Linked DNA regions of Homo sapiens: regions 1, 2, 3 and 5 are each linked to region 4. Evidence: promoter capture Hi-C in 16 types of primary human blood cells and fetal thymus (Javierre and others, 2016). All regions are on one chromosome and are shown on one strand. Each heading gives the region's core, a stretch centred on a gene start or on the middle of the fragment in contact. The rest is flanking DNA. Distances are from core to core; before and after follow the strand shown.

Region 1 (2,700 bases), core at 179-2,678, about 17 Mb before region 4:
TTATTTAACTTTTTGTAATTTAAAACTATGTCAATGACGACAGCGGGGGCGGGGTGATTTCCTTAGAAAACGCATCTTTGGAGACGTCAGTAGCATTCTCCATTACTTCACAAAATCCATACAACCTGAGAACGCCTCGACTCATTAAGGAATTAAGACACCTAGGATTTAGTCCAGACTCATAGATAAACACTGCAACAATTAAGCTTTCTTCAAAAAATGAGGATAACTGTGCCTAACCTAAAACCGTTGACTCCCTCATCCTGGGCGCCGTTATATGGGATTGCTTCTCAAAGCGTACAATGCTGTTTAGTCTAGGGCTTTGCTTAACAGCCCTATTTAAGTACCCCAAAGATGGGGATTTGAATAGTCTGAAGTAGGCACCCCGAAACTAAAGTTCCTTCGAAACACTCTCGTTTAATTAAAAAAAAAAGTCACGGTGATTTGCATGCCACTCCAATTAAAAAGAAATGCTTTTATATAAAAACTCGTTTTAAAATTATTCACCACTTAGCTTTTCCACCCCTTCAATTTTCAAGTAAAAAAGACGCTCCAGGAAGATGGCACCGTTATAATTATCAGCACTTTCGACAAGGGAAGTGCAGCTCAAACGTTATACCTCAATGCTGGTCTCCTACATCTCCCTCTTAGGCACAATCACACACAATCCCGCACCCAGTTTCACATTCACTCAACAATCCCAAACATCAGGTCAAACTTTGAGGACAAACTCGGTCACACTCGCTCAAACCCGCCTCAGAGGCCCCCATCTCCGCCCCGCACGTAGGCCAGAAGCTCTTACACCCACTCCCTGCCCTCGCGCCGCGCCCCTAAAGATCAGGAATCCTCCCCTTTAACCTCCCCGGTCCGACCGACCCGAGACGCCCAGATCCCACCTCCTACTTTCGCGCCACGTGGACCCAGGGGCCGTACTGACCCGCGGACAAAGACCAAAATGTCCACTCGGTGCGCTGCGCTTGCGCACTCGGAGAGCGAGGAAGCACTCCCAGAAGTCTCCGCGACGCGGCCCGCCTCGGTCACCGCGGCCAGGCCCAGGCTGGTACTGAATTACCTTCTATTACCAGCAACGTCGCTTCTCAGGCCTTGGACTACATTTCCCTTGAGGCTTTACTGGTCGACTCTCTGTCTCCTCCCCTCCCCCCGCGAACTTGGCCGCCTCCTTCTGTGACGATGGAGCTCTTGAGGTAAGTAGTCCTTTAGCGTCAGATGACTTCAAGCTTGCTGGAAGGTCTGGAGTGGCGACGCCCTCTCCGAAGACTCGTGGGCGCAAAAATGTCAAAACGAGCCAGGCCCCGACTCAGAGATAAGAGAACGCCATTCTGTCCGTGGCCGATCTAGCTCTGGACTACAATTCCCAGAGCCCACAGCGGCCTGACGTTACGTCGTTCTTGACGTCGTGGCGAGCTAGTTAGCTCCGCAAGGACCCGGACGCGACCAGGGGAGGCAGAAGGTGAGGGGTCTGGGAGTCCTGGGCGGGGCCGGGGCGTGTCCGGAGCCTCGAATCTGTGCGCGCAGGCGGGAGCTGGCTGCGGATGCGCCGTTCTGAATGTGTCTTTGTGGCTGTGTGGCTGGGTGTGGGTGTCTGCAACTGTGCACGTGTAACCGCCTGTCTCCAGGGTGTCTGGTGGTTTTTGTGTAACCATGTGTGATAGAGAGTATCGGGGTGCAGGGTCCTTGTGACCGGGGGTGATACTGCGTGTGTCCCCGTTGTATATGTGGCCTGTTCGCCCTGTTCCTGGGGTGTGAGTACAGTTGTGACTGTGTGACCACTGCGGGTGTGCGGTTGTGATTCATGTCTCCAAGGTGTGTGCGTGGTTTTGGTTGTGTGACACTGTGGCCGTGTGCAATTGCCTGTGCCTGTGACTGTGTGGTGACGCCGCTTGTGTATTCCTGTATCCCTTGGTGTGTGTGTTTGTGTGTATGTGTGTGGTGCTGTGTATGCGGGAGTGGGGTGCCACTGCTTGTGTGGGTTGCTTGTGTGAGTGTGACTGTGTGTATGTCCACAGTGAAAGTTCAGTTGTGACTGGGTGCCGTAAAGTACCAGTGATGGCGTGTGTCCCCTGAGTGGGTGTGTGACTGTGACTATATGAGGCATTTGTGGGTGTTGGTGTGTGGGGCTTGTGACTATACGGGAGTAACTGTATCACAGTGGAGAGTAGATTGTGTGACTGGGTGTGTCTTAGCGGGTGTGTGATTGTGACTGGAAAGATATTGTGACTGGAAAGGTATAGAGGTGTCTGTGATTGTGTCCTGTGTCTCAGGAGTGGATGTAGGGCCGGGTGTGGTGGCTCACATCAGCCCTTTGGGAGGCCGAGGTGGGAGGATCACTTGAGCCCAGGAGTTCGAGACCAGCCTGGCCTGTACAAAAAAAAAAAAAAAAAATTAATGGCTGGCACGGTGGCTCACACCTGTAATCCCAGCACTTTGGGAGGCCGAGGCGGGTGGATCACCTGAGGTCAGGAGTTCTAGACCAGCCTGGCCAACACGATAAAACCCTGTCTCTACTAAAAATACAAAAATTAGCTGGGCGTGGTGGCAGGTGCCTGTAATCCCAGCTGCTCAGGGGGCTGAGGCAGGAGAATCGCTTGAACCCAGGAGGCAGAGGTTGCAGTGAGCCGAGATCGCGCCATCGCACTCCAGCCTGGGGGACAAGAGCGAGACTTCGTCTCAAAAACAAAC
Region 2 (2,700 bases), core at 149-2,648, about 16 Mb before region 4:
TTAAAATAAAAAATTCAGGCCAAGCACAGTGGCACACACGTTATCTCAGTGCTTTGGGAGGCTGAGAGGGGAGGATTTCTTGAGCCCAGGAATAGAGACCACTCTAGGCAACATAATGAGACCTCATCTGTACAAAAATAAGTTTTTTAATTAGCTGGGCATGGTGGCACACACCTGCAGTCCTAGCTACTCAGGAGGTTCAGGCTGGAAGATAGCTTGAGCCCAGAAATTCGAGGCTGCAGTGAGATATGATATATGATCACACCATGACACTCCAGCCTGGATGACAGAGCAAGACCCTGTTTCTGAAAACAAACAAAAAACCCAGAAAGTAATGCCCAAGAGGATCCTTTTATACAGGTTATCATGGACTAGCATATTAATGAAAATTCCTGCAACAAAGCAGCTAATTTAACTTAGTTCAAGGCAGCAAATTCCACATTTCTTTTGTCAAGGAACTCCTTTTTTTTTTTTTTTTTTTTTGAGAGGGGTCTCTCGCTCTGTAGGCTGGAGTGCATTGCTGTGATCTCAGCTCACTGCAACATCTACCTCCCAAGTTCAAGCGATTCTCCTGCCTCAGCCTCCTGAGTAGCTGGGATTACAGGTGCCCGCCACTATGCCAGGCTAATTTTTGTATTTTTAGTAAAACAGGGTTTCACTATATTGGCCAGGCTGGTCTTGAACTCCTGACCTTGTGATCCACTGCCTTGGCCTCCCAAAGTGGTGGGATTACAGGCATGAGCCACCTTAACTGGCCTCAAGGAACTCTTTTATCTTTAGGTATTTCATTCATGTCCCCTGGAATCTTGTCAAATGCTGGCTGAAATTTTCTTGTAAAATTTTGTGGCATGGCGGCTTATGCCTATAATCCCAGCACTTTGGGAGGCTGAAGTGGGAGAATCACTTGAGCTCAGGAGTTTGAGACCAGTTTGGGCAACATAGCAAGACTCCATCTCTACAAAAAAGTGTTTTGAAAAAATTAGCCAGGCATAGTGGTGTGCCCGTGCTCCTAGCTACTTGGGAGGCTGGGGTGGGAGGATCGCTGGAGCCCAGGAGTTTGAGGTTGCAATGAGACGAAATTGTGCCCCATACTCCAGCCTGGATGACAGAGAGACCCTGTCTCAAAAATAAAAAATAAAAATAAACATCTTTCCTGATTTGACAGGCAAAAGGTGGTGTCTCAATATTTTATGTAACATTCTTCAAATATGAATGGGGGTGAACTTGGCTTTCATGGTTTTTTGGCTATTGGTGTTTCTTTTATGTATTGTCTTTTCAAATATTTGCCCAGTTTCCTTATTGGCTTTTCATGTTAATTTCACATTACTTTATTAAAATCTTTATTCTTGGCCGTGCGCAGTGGCTCACACCTGGAATCCCAGCACTTTGGGAGACTGAGGTGGGAGGATTGCTTGAGCCCAGGAGCCTGAGGCTGCAGTGAGCCGAGATTGTGCCACTGCACTCCAGCCTGAGCAACATGGCGAAACCCCACCTCTACAAATAATACAGAAATTAGCTGGGTGTGGTGGCATGTGCCTGTAGTCTCAGCTATTCATGGGGCCTACTGAGGTGGGAGGAGCACTTGAGCCCGGGAAGTTGAGGCTACAGTGAGCTCAGATCACACCGCCGGGATCACACACAGGCTGGATAACAGAGCAAGACGCTGTCTAAAAAACAAACAAAAAAATCAGCTCTTTTTTTTTGAAATGGAGTTTCGCTTTTGTTGCCCAGGCTGGAGTGCAATGGTGTGATCTTGGCTTGCCACAACCTCCGCCTCCTGGGTTCAAGCGATTCTCCTATCTCAGCCTCCCAAGTAGCTGGGATTATAGGTATGGGCCACCATGCCCGCCTAATTTTGTATTTTTAGTAGTTTCTCCATGTTGGTCAGGCTGGTCTTGAACTCCCAACCTCAGGTGATTCGCCTGCCTCGGCCTCCCAAAGTGCTGGGATTACAGGTGTGAGCCACCCTGCCTGGCCTGCAGCATTCTTTCCTTCATTTTTTTTTTTTTTTTTTTTTTTTGAGATGGAGTCTCATTCTGTCACCCAAGCTGGAATGCAGTGGCATGATGTCAGCTCACTGCAACCTCCACCTCCTGGGTTCAAGCAATTCTCCTGCCTCAGCCTCCCAAGTAGCTGGGACTACAGGCACATGCTGGCATGCCCAGTTAGTTTTTTGTATTTTAGTAGAGATGGGGTTTCACTGTATTGCCCAGGTTGGTCTCGAACTCCTGAGCTCAGGCAATCCACCTGCCTCGGCCTCCCAAAGTGCTGGGATTACAGGCGTGAGTGCCCGGCAGCATTCTTTCTAGTAAAACTTTTCTTTTTCAAGCCTACGCTGTCCTCAGTAAATTCTTCTTACTGTTAGAAATAAGTTCTTGGTGCCACAGAGAGAGACCAGCACTCGGAGAAAAGTTTCTTAGCAAGGCAAAGTTTACTTCTGCAGAAGCGTGCTGCCCAGACCTGTACCAAAAGCACACCTAATAAAGGAGAGCAGGGGTTTTTAACCCCCGTTGGCTAGGGTTGGACCTCACAATCTAAGCTGATTCCGATTGCCTATTTCTAATAGAGGCGGGGTATGGGTTGCAGCGGCGGGGAGGGGCAGTTTCCCCGGTAAGGGCAGTTTCTGCAGGAAGGACAGTTCATAGAGCAAAGGACAAGGAAGTTAGATTTTTGAAGAGGAACTCATTCTGTCTAACATTA
Region 3 (2,700 bases), core at 1-2,500, about 16 Mb before region 4:
GGAACCCCAAGAGCACCAGCCCCTTTGCCCTCACCCAGGGACGGCTGGCAAAATAGGAGGAAGGGGACTGCAGCTCAGAGCTGGTATGAAGGGCTGAGGGGTGGGGTCCTCCCAGGCACCCATACCCCAATATGGGGGTCCTTACCTCCTGGATGTTCACCTGGATTTGTCCAGTGCCATCTTTGTCAAGAGATTTGAAGGCACCTGGAGGAGGAGATGCAGAGGTTTGGCGGCAGGGAAGGAAGGAGACTGGTTTTTGGCATAATAACATTACACAAATACATGGGATGACAATCATAGCAGCTGGCACTTCACTGAGTATTTACTGTGTGCCAAGCATGGGGTAAAGTGCTTTCCAGGTATTGGCTGATTTAATCCAACTCTGTGAGATAAGTGTCATTTTAAAATGAGGCACAGGCTGGGCGTGGTGGCTCACACCTATAATCCCAACACTTTGGAAGGCCAAGATGGGAGGATCACTTGAGCCGCCCAGGAGTTCGAGACCAACCTGGGCAACAGAGACCTCATCTCTGCTTTTTAAAAAAACTAAAAATTAAAAACAGGAAAAAAAGAAATGAGGCAGGAAGGGAGGGGCCATGCCCCAGGTCACATAGCAAGAAAGTGAAGAAATCAGGATTGGAATCCAATCTGTTACCCTCCTCAATAATGGCCTCTGTGTACTGATATCACCTCTGCCCAGCCCCAGCCTCCTACTGACATCTATGCTCCATCCTCTCCAGTTCTAAGCCTAACAGGCTACTAGAGGGAGGCTCTGCACACTCTACTTCCTGCCCCTAGAGTCTTACAGGTAGGTCCCCACGCCTGCCCTGAAACTTGACTCCATGTTCCCCACCCACAGGGAATCTAGACATGATGACTACACTATCTCCGCTCAGTTACCACCACCCTCAGGTGTCCATACCCACAGCGTCCTGCACACCCTGGCTGCCTTTCTTTCTTTTTTTTTTTGAGACAGAGTCCCACTCTGTTGCCCAGGCTGGAGTGCAGTGGCACGATCTTGGCTCACTGCAACCTTTGCCTCCCAGGTTCAAGTGATTCTCCTGCCTCAGCCTCCTGAGTAGCTGGGACTACAGGCGTGCACCACCACGCCTGGCTAATTTTTTTGTATTTTTAGTAGAGACGGGGTTTCACTATGTTGGCCAGGCTGGTCTCAAACTCCTGACATCAGGTGATCCGCCCACCTCGGCCTCCCAAAGTGCTGGGATTACAGGAGTGAGCCACCATGCCCAGCCCTTTTTTTTTTTTTTTTAGACGGTGTCTCTGTGGCCCAGGCTGGAGTCCAGTGGCAAGATCATAGCTCACTGCAGCCTCACCCTCCCGGGCTCAAGTGATTCTCCTACCTCAGCCTCCCGAGCAACTGAGACCACAGGCATGTGCCACCATGCCCGGCTATGTCTATATACATATATTTTTTTTTTTTTGTAGAGATGGAGTCCTACTACATTGCCCAGGCTGGTCTCAAACTCCTGGACTCAAATGATCCTCCCGACTATCAGCCTTCTTGCTGGTAGATCCAGTGGCTATTTCCTGGCCCCTCTTATGTGACTTGTGGCATCAACCTTGTCTGTCCACTCCCTTCACCTCCCTGCTATCTCACATACCTGCTTCTTTTCCTCTGTTACTTTTCATGCATTGTGGGCTCTCTGGAGGCCAAGGGATCTTTTTTTCTTTTTTTTTTTTTGAGATGGAATCTCGCTCTTGTCACCCAGGTTGGAGGCTGGAGTGCAATGGCATGACCTCTGCTCACTGCAACCTCCGCTTCCTGGGTTCAAGCAATTCTCCCTCCCTAAACCTCCTGAGTAGCTGGGACTACAGACACGCCCCCACGCCTGGCTAACTTTTGTATCGTTAGTAGATGCGGGGTTTCGCCATGTTGGCCAGGCTGGTCTTGAACTCCTGACCTCAGGTTTTACGCCCACCTCAGCCTCCCAGAGTGCTGGGATTACAGGCATAAGCCACTGCACCCGGCCTGGAGGCCAAGGGATTTTTTTTTTTTAAGACGGAGTCTCGATCTGTCACCCAGGCTGGAGTGCAGTGGCAGATCTCAGCTCACTGCAAGCTCCGCCTCCTGGGTTCATGCCATTCTCCCGCCTCAGCCTCCCAAGTAGCTGGGACTACAGGCGCCCGCCACCACACCTGGCTAATTTTTTGTATTTTTAGTAGAGATGGGGTTTCACTGTGTTAGCCAGGATGGTCTCGAACTCCTGACCTCGTGATCCGCCCTCCTCGGCCTCCCAAAGTGCTGGGATTACAGGCGTGAGCCACCGTGCCCAGCCGAGGCCAAGGGATCTTTCTAAAGCCAAACCTGACCCTGTCCTCCCTCTGCCTAGAACCTGCCATGGCTCCCCAATGTCTCTGGTAGAGTTTGAGCACCCCCAAACTTGGCACCCACAATCCTGCATGACCTAATCATGCTCACTGCTCCTACCTTCTCTTACTTAGCTCAGATCTCAGATAGATCCAAGTTCAAATTCTGGCTTTACAACTTCCTAGCTGGGTGACTATGAGCATGAAAATTTGCCTCCTTGAATCCTAAGTTCCTCCTTCACAAAATAAGGACAGTAATCCCCACTTCCCAGCCATGTCTTCAGCATTCAGTACACTAACACTCAGAAGGCCACATGCAATGGCTCATGCCTGTAACACCAAAGCTTTGGGAGGCTGAGGTAGGAGGATTGC
Region 4 (2,700 bases), core at 190-2,689:
GGAGTGCAGTGGCGCGATCTCGGCTCACTGCAAGCTCCGCCTCCCAGGTTCAGGCCATTCTCCTGCCTCAGCCTCCCGAGTAGCTGGGACTACAGGCGCCTGCAACCACGCCCGGCTAATTTTTTGTATTTTTAGTAGAGACGGGGTTTCACTGTGTTAGCCAGGACGGTCTCGATCTCCTGAACTCGTGATCCGCCCGCCTCGGCCTCCCAAAGTGCTGGAATTACAGGGGTGAGCCACCGCGCCCGGCCTAGAAGTATATAATTTCAAGTAAACACCAGTTTTTCATTTTTTATGTTAAAGTGGTAATTTCTTTTTTTTTTTTTTTTTTTTTTTGGAGACAGAGTCTCGCTCTGTCGCCCAGGCTGGAGGGCAGTGGCACAATCTCCGCTCACTGCAAGCTCTGCCTCTCCAGTTCGCGCCATTCTGCCTCAGGCTCCGGAGTAGCTGGGACTACAGGCGCCCGCCACCACGCCCGGAGAATTTTTTTTTTTTTTTTGTATTTTTAGTGGAGACGGGGTTTCACCGCGTTAGCCAGGATGGTCTCGATCTCCTGACCTCGGCCTCCCAAAGTGCTGGGATTACAGGCGTGAGCCACCGCGCCCGGCCTAAAGTGGTTTTTGTAATTCATTTTTCTTTTTTTTTTTTTTGAGACAGTCTTGCTCTGTTGGCCAGGCTGAAGTGCAGTGGAGCAATCTTGGCTCACTGCAACCTCCGTCTCCCGGGCTCAAGCAATTCTCCTGCCTCATCCTCCCGAGTAGCTGGGATTACAGGCATGTGCCACCACGCCCGGCTAATTTTTGTATTTTTAGTAGAGACGTGGTTTCACCATGTTGGGTCTTGAACTCCTGATCTCAGGTGATCCACCCGCCTCGCCTCCCAAAGTGTTGGGATTACAGGCGTGAGCCACCGCGCCCGGCTAGTATTTGTAATTCTTATCTATCACATTAAGGCTCTTGTCCGGTGTGGTTGTGTTCCGGGGCGGTCCCCGACCCCGCCCCTCACAAGCCCCGCCCCCCGCACCGGGCCCCGCCTCCTGAACTCCGAAGCTCCCGACCCCGCCTCCGCAGGGTCCAGGCTTCGCCCCTGGTGACAGGTGGTGCTGGTGTAGTCAAGGAGGAGGGCTCGCTTTTTTTGGTTCAGGTTGTCATGGTGGCGCCCAAGCCCGCCTTGCCGGCCTTGTCTTTTCCGGTCTCAGTCCGGCGTGGCAGCGGAGGCAGGCACCGTTAGGTCTTCCAGTCCCTCTCTGTCATGGCGACGCCCAGCCTCTTCTTCCGGCCACAGCCTGTCATGGCGGCACCCGAAGTAGTCCCTGCCGGGGCCAGCCTGTTCTGTTGCCCTGGCTCTTCCTAGTCCAGGCTGCCATGGCGGCGCTCAGGGCTTACCGGAAGTAAAACTTCGGAAGTGAGGCGTTCCTCTGCCCGGAAGTGAGCGCGGCGCTAGGAAAGATGGCGGCAGCGGCGGCGGTGGGCAACGCGGTGCCCTGCGGGGCCCGGCCTTGCGGGGTCCGGCCTGACGGGCAGCCCAAGCCCGGGCCGCAGCCGCGCGCGCTCCTTGCCGCCGGGCCGGCGCTCATAGCGAACGGTGACGAGCTGGTGGCTGCCGTGTGGCCGTACCGGCGGTTGGCGCTGTTGCGGCGCCTCACGGTGCTGCCATTCGCCGGGCTGCTTTACCCGGCCTGGTTGGGTGCCGCAGCCGCTGGCTGCTGGGGCTGGGGCAGCAGTTGGGTGCAGATCCCCGAAGCTGCGCTGCTCGTGCTTGCCACCATCTGCCTCGCGCACGCGCTCACTGTCCTCTCGGGGCATTGGTCTGTGCACGCGCATTGCGCGCTCACCTGCACCCCGGTAAGTGTGTACACGCGAGCCCGACCCCCAGCACGGTCGAGCCTCGCCGTGGGTCCCAGCTGCGGCCTTCCTGTCGGTCACCATCGCGACCTGGGCCACTCATCTGCCTGGCCTGGATTCCCAGGGGCACCCTCTACACTTTGGCGCAGGCTTAATCATGACCCCACTGCTGACTTGCTGTGCATGCCTGGTGCGGGTTATTTCCTTTTTCTGAAGTCCTCCCTGTTATGGTCATTTAGATTCAGTGATGTAATACTTGTAAAAGGCTTAGCGCAGGGCCCAGCATACGTCGCCCAGGTCAGGTAGGAGTTGTTTATACTAGTTCCCATATTAGCGACTACTCTTGTTCTGGAAACGGCCCTACCTTCCATCTCATCTGTCTCCTACCTTGGTTTTCAAAGTGTAAGGCGAGATCACTGGGATAGGTTTCCCCCATCTATGAAGCTTAGTTGGTTCTTAGACTGAACCAAGTCTTGCTGTCCAGTGCTTAGTGGTCTTCCATACTGTGATGGAAAGGAGCATGAAATGCAGTTAATTACAGTGTTGAAGAGAGGCAGAGGTGTTTATGAGCGAGTCATTTACATGATGTCTTTCCGCAAAATGAGGGTGGTGATACTGAGTTCTGTCGGGGATACAACAGCAAGCAAGGTCGCGCTCCTGACCCACAGTTTAGAGTTCTGAGTGACCAAGTGTCGTCGGAGGAGTTGGTGACTGTGAGCTTCCCTGGGCCTGAAGCAGTGACTGTGTCGTCTCTCTCTGGGCCTGCCTCAGGTGACACCAGCAGGTTTGGAGCCATGGACACTGAGGTATATCAGGAAGCTTCCCCTCTGATTCCAGGAGTGTGTTTGCCTCAAGA
Region 5 (2,700 bases), core at 138-2,637, about 15 Mb before region 4:
AGAAACACTGGTGGTGGAAGAAGGGCATGTCACTCACATCCTTCCCACACCTCATTTGTCTCAGGGAGGAGCATTGTTTGGGGACCCCAGAAGGGGAAGGGTTTCTGACCCCAGAAGAGTAAGGACACTTTATAGAAAAAAAGGCACGGAGCCGGGGAGGCCTTTACTGAAAGTCAGTATCCAAAGGCTCGCTGAATTCTTCAAAGAACGTTTCAGCCCTTTTTTTTTTTTTTTTTTTGCGACGGAGTCTCACTCTGTCACCCCGGCTGGAGTGCAGTGGCACAATCTTGGCTCACTGCAACCTCCACCTCCTGGGTTCAAGCAATTCTCCTCCCTCAGCCTCCCGAGTAGCTAAGATTACAGGCCTGCACCACCATGCCTGGCTAATGTTTGTATTTTTAGTAGAGATAGGGTTTCCCCGTGTTGGCCAGGCTGGTCTCAAACTCCTGACCTCAGGTGATCCATCCGCCTCGGCCTCCCCAAGTGCTGGGATTACAGGTGTGAGTCACTGCGCCCAGCCACGTTTCAGCATTTCATTTGAGCAGGGAATACATCCTCAAGAGGAGCAGGAAAAGGGAAGAAGATGCAGGAAAGTTGGCCATTATTTGAGAAGATAAAACCCACTCTCTGTGGTGCTGACAGTATTTCTTTGTGCACCATCGTTCACAGCTCTTGGTCCAGAGGTTACAACCACGCCCACCACACCACCTGCAGACTGGCTCCAGATTAATTTCCTGGGTCTGCTTCCTCCCTCACTCACATTTAACTTTGCAAATCCCCTTCATTCATTATTCATTCATTCCACAAATATTTGTCAAAGGTGCTAGAGATAAAATGGGAAATAAGTTTCTTGCATTCGAGAAGTTTATAATGTGATGAAATCATTGTCTTTGCTAGCATATATTAAGAATTTACACCTGGTGAATCTTCCTTCAAAAATGAGAAATCAAGTACGTCAATGGACATTTGGTGGGAGATTAACAGAGAATTCCAGAATGACTAAACAAACCCACAATTTTGGGGAGGAGAACAAAAAGAAAGAATGAAGACAAAATCCCCCAGAAATGGTCTCAACGGTGAGGAAAGAGAAGTCAGAAGCTGGGTATTGCTACATCCTGGAAACAGCATATAGGAAATTAGGAAATTTAGGAAGGCGATTTCTTGTTCTAATTCTGCCTGACTCATGCAAATTCCCGCATATCTATTTACGCCTCTGTCACTCAGTTTTCCTCATCTGTACAGATAAACTCTAATCTAATGCAGATGGGTGTTACAAAAATGCAACAGTGCACCTAAGAGTGCTTTGGGAACCATGAAGCTCTATATAAATAGGAAAGAATATATTTTTTTAGAGTGCCTCCTAACATCGCTGATCTCTGTCTTCCAGGCACCTTCTTTCCTGGAGCACAACTCACCAATTCCACCACCAGCTGGTTTCTTCCTACGTCACAAAAGCAACTGCGAACAGGGCTCCATTGAGTGGGGACCCGACTCATTACTTCTCTCAGGGGGCCCACAGTGGAGTTAGAAAGGCGAGCCCAGCAAACACTTACAGGAAACTGCCGTGAGCCCCATCACTGAGCATGGGTGGGGTGGGTGAACTAGAATTTGCTATCTGAGCAGTTGGTGTTTGACTTGAGTCTTTGAAGCACCTGGAAAATAATATCACACGTCCTTGGTGTTCCATGTTTGCCCTGACCGCACCTTTATCTGAAGGCCCCTGAGGGCTGAGGTCTTGCATTCCAGGAGACCCTTGAGGGTCAGGGTTTATGTGTTTCTCCTATGCCTACACACACAGGTGGTGTGGAGTTGTTCCATAGCACAGTTCCATTCATACACAAGGTTCTTACAGTGTGCAATGACCCAGGCTTGCAGCCCTTCTCAACCTTAACTGCACAGTAAAATCCCCAGGGAAACTTTTAACAATCCGGGCAGCAGGCTGCACCCCAGACCAATGCAATCAAAATCTCTGGGGGTAGTCCCTTGCATCAGGGATTTTAAAAGTTCCTCTGGGCCAGGCGCGGTAGCTCACACCTGTAATCCCAGCACTTTGGGAGGCCGAGCTGGGCAGATCACTTGGGGTAAGGAGTTCGAGACCAGCCTGGTCAACATGGTGTAACCCCGTCTCTACTAAAATACAAAAATTAGCCGGGCGTAATGGTGGGAGCCTGTAATCCCAGCTACTCTGGAGGCTGAGGAGGGAGAATCGCTTGAACCCGGGAGGCGGAGGTTGCAGTGAACAGAGATCGCGCCATTGCACTACAGCCTGGGCGACAGAGGGAGACTCCATCTCAAACACACACACACACACACACACACACACACACACACACACACACACACTTCCTCTGGTGGTTCTAACACGCAGCCAAGGTAGAGAACCACTGAGTTACAGCCTGGCCCTCAAGGGTGCACACCAATTGCCTGGGTGGGGGAGTTGACAAAATGCAGATTTTGATTCAGCAGGTCTGGTTTTAAGTCCTGAGGTTCTGCTTTTCAAACAAGTTCCCAGACGCTGCTGCCGCTGGTGGCCGGACAGCATTTTGACAGAAAGGGGCGGGAGCACAAGCAAAGTTCCCTGGGACCGGGATTGTGGTTCTAGTGCCCTCTGGTGGTCAGGACCTCCCTAGCAGCGCCCTGCAGAGAAGAACTGATGATAGAAGCCCTGGCTAACAGAATTTCTGGCGGACACCTGGATTT

Evidence for each region. The method cuts DNA at HindIII sites, captures the fragments that hold promoters and counts their contacts. A CHiCAGO score of 5 or more calls a contact.
Region 1: a contact is called between the fragment with the promoter of ZNF565 here and the fragment with the promoter of ATP13A1 in region 4, in 1 of 17 cell types (M0 macrophages). The highest score is 13.3, in M0 macrophages.
Region 2: a fragment that was not itself captured here is called in contact with the fragment with the promoter of ATP13A1 in region 4 in 1 of 17 cell types (monocytes); the score reaches 5.7 in monocytes.
Region 3: a contact is called between a fragment that was not itself captured here and the fragment with the promoter of ATP13A1 in region 4, in 1 of 17 cell types (M0 macrophages). The highest score is 9.6, in M0 macrophages.
Region 5: a fragment that was not itself captured here is called in contact with the fragment with the promoter of ATP13A1 in region 4 in 1 of 17 cell types (M0 macrophages); the score reaches 5.8 in M0 macrophages.

What each region holds. Positions count from the first base shown.
Region 1 is chr19:36,213,393-36,216,092 of GRCh38, reverse strand. ZNF565 (zinc finger protein 565) reads left to right here and starts at 1,428. Exons shown (of 5, transcript NM_152477.5): 1 at 1,428-1,471. ZNF146 (zinc finger protein 146) reads right to left here and starts at 987. Exons shown (of 4, transcript NM_007145.3): 1 at 897-987. RefSeq lists enhancers at 744-933, 1,044-1,473. The HindIII fragment of the contact is 6,757 bases long and covers 1,241-2,700 here.
Region 2 is chr19:36,128,425-36,131,124 of GRCh38, reverse strand. All of the region lies in intron 2 of LOC105372385 (a long non-coding RNA gene), which reads left to right. Among named protein-coding and RNA genes, the nearest start is that of CAPNS1, 10 kb to the left of the region's middle. RefSeq lists an enhancer at 2,645-2,700. The HindIII fragment of the contact is 8,615 bases long and covers 1-2,700 here.
Region 3 is chr19:36,147,082-36,149,781 of GRCh38, reverse strand. CAPNS1 (calpain small subunit 1) reads right to left here. Exons shown (of 11, transcript NM_001749.4): 10 at 146-204. Among named protein-coding and RNA genes, the nearest start is that of COX7A1, 4.0 kb to the left of the region's middle. The HindIII fragment of the contact is 2,849 bases long and covers 1-2,674 here.
Region 4 is chr19:19,662,415-19,665,114 of GRCh38, reverse strand. It overlaps ATP13A1 (ATPase 13A1), which reads left to right and starts at 1,439. Exons shown (of 26, transcript NM_020410.3): 1 at 1,439-1,844. The coding sequence starts at 1,449. RefSeq lists silencers at 953-1,002, 1,443-1,702 and enhancers at 1,103-1,392, 1,736-1,837, 1,109-2,091, 2,223-2,272. The HindIII fragment of the contact is 4,289 bases long and covers 1-2,290 here.
Region 5 is chr19:34,973,247-34,975,946 of GRCh38, reverse strand. It overlaps LOC124904700 (a long non-coding RNA gene), which reads left to right and starts at 2,320. Exons shown (of 2, transcript XR_007067237.1): 1 at 2,320-2,700. The HindIII fragment of the contact is 2,908 bases long and covers 1-2,700 here.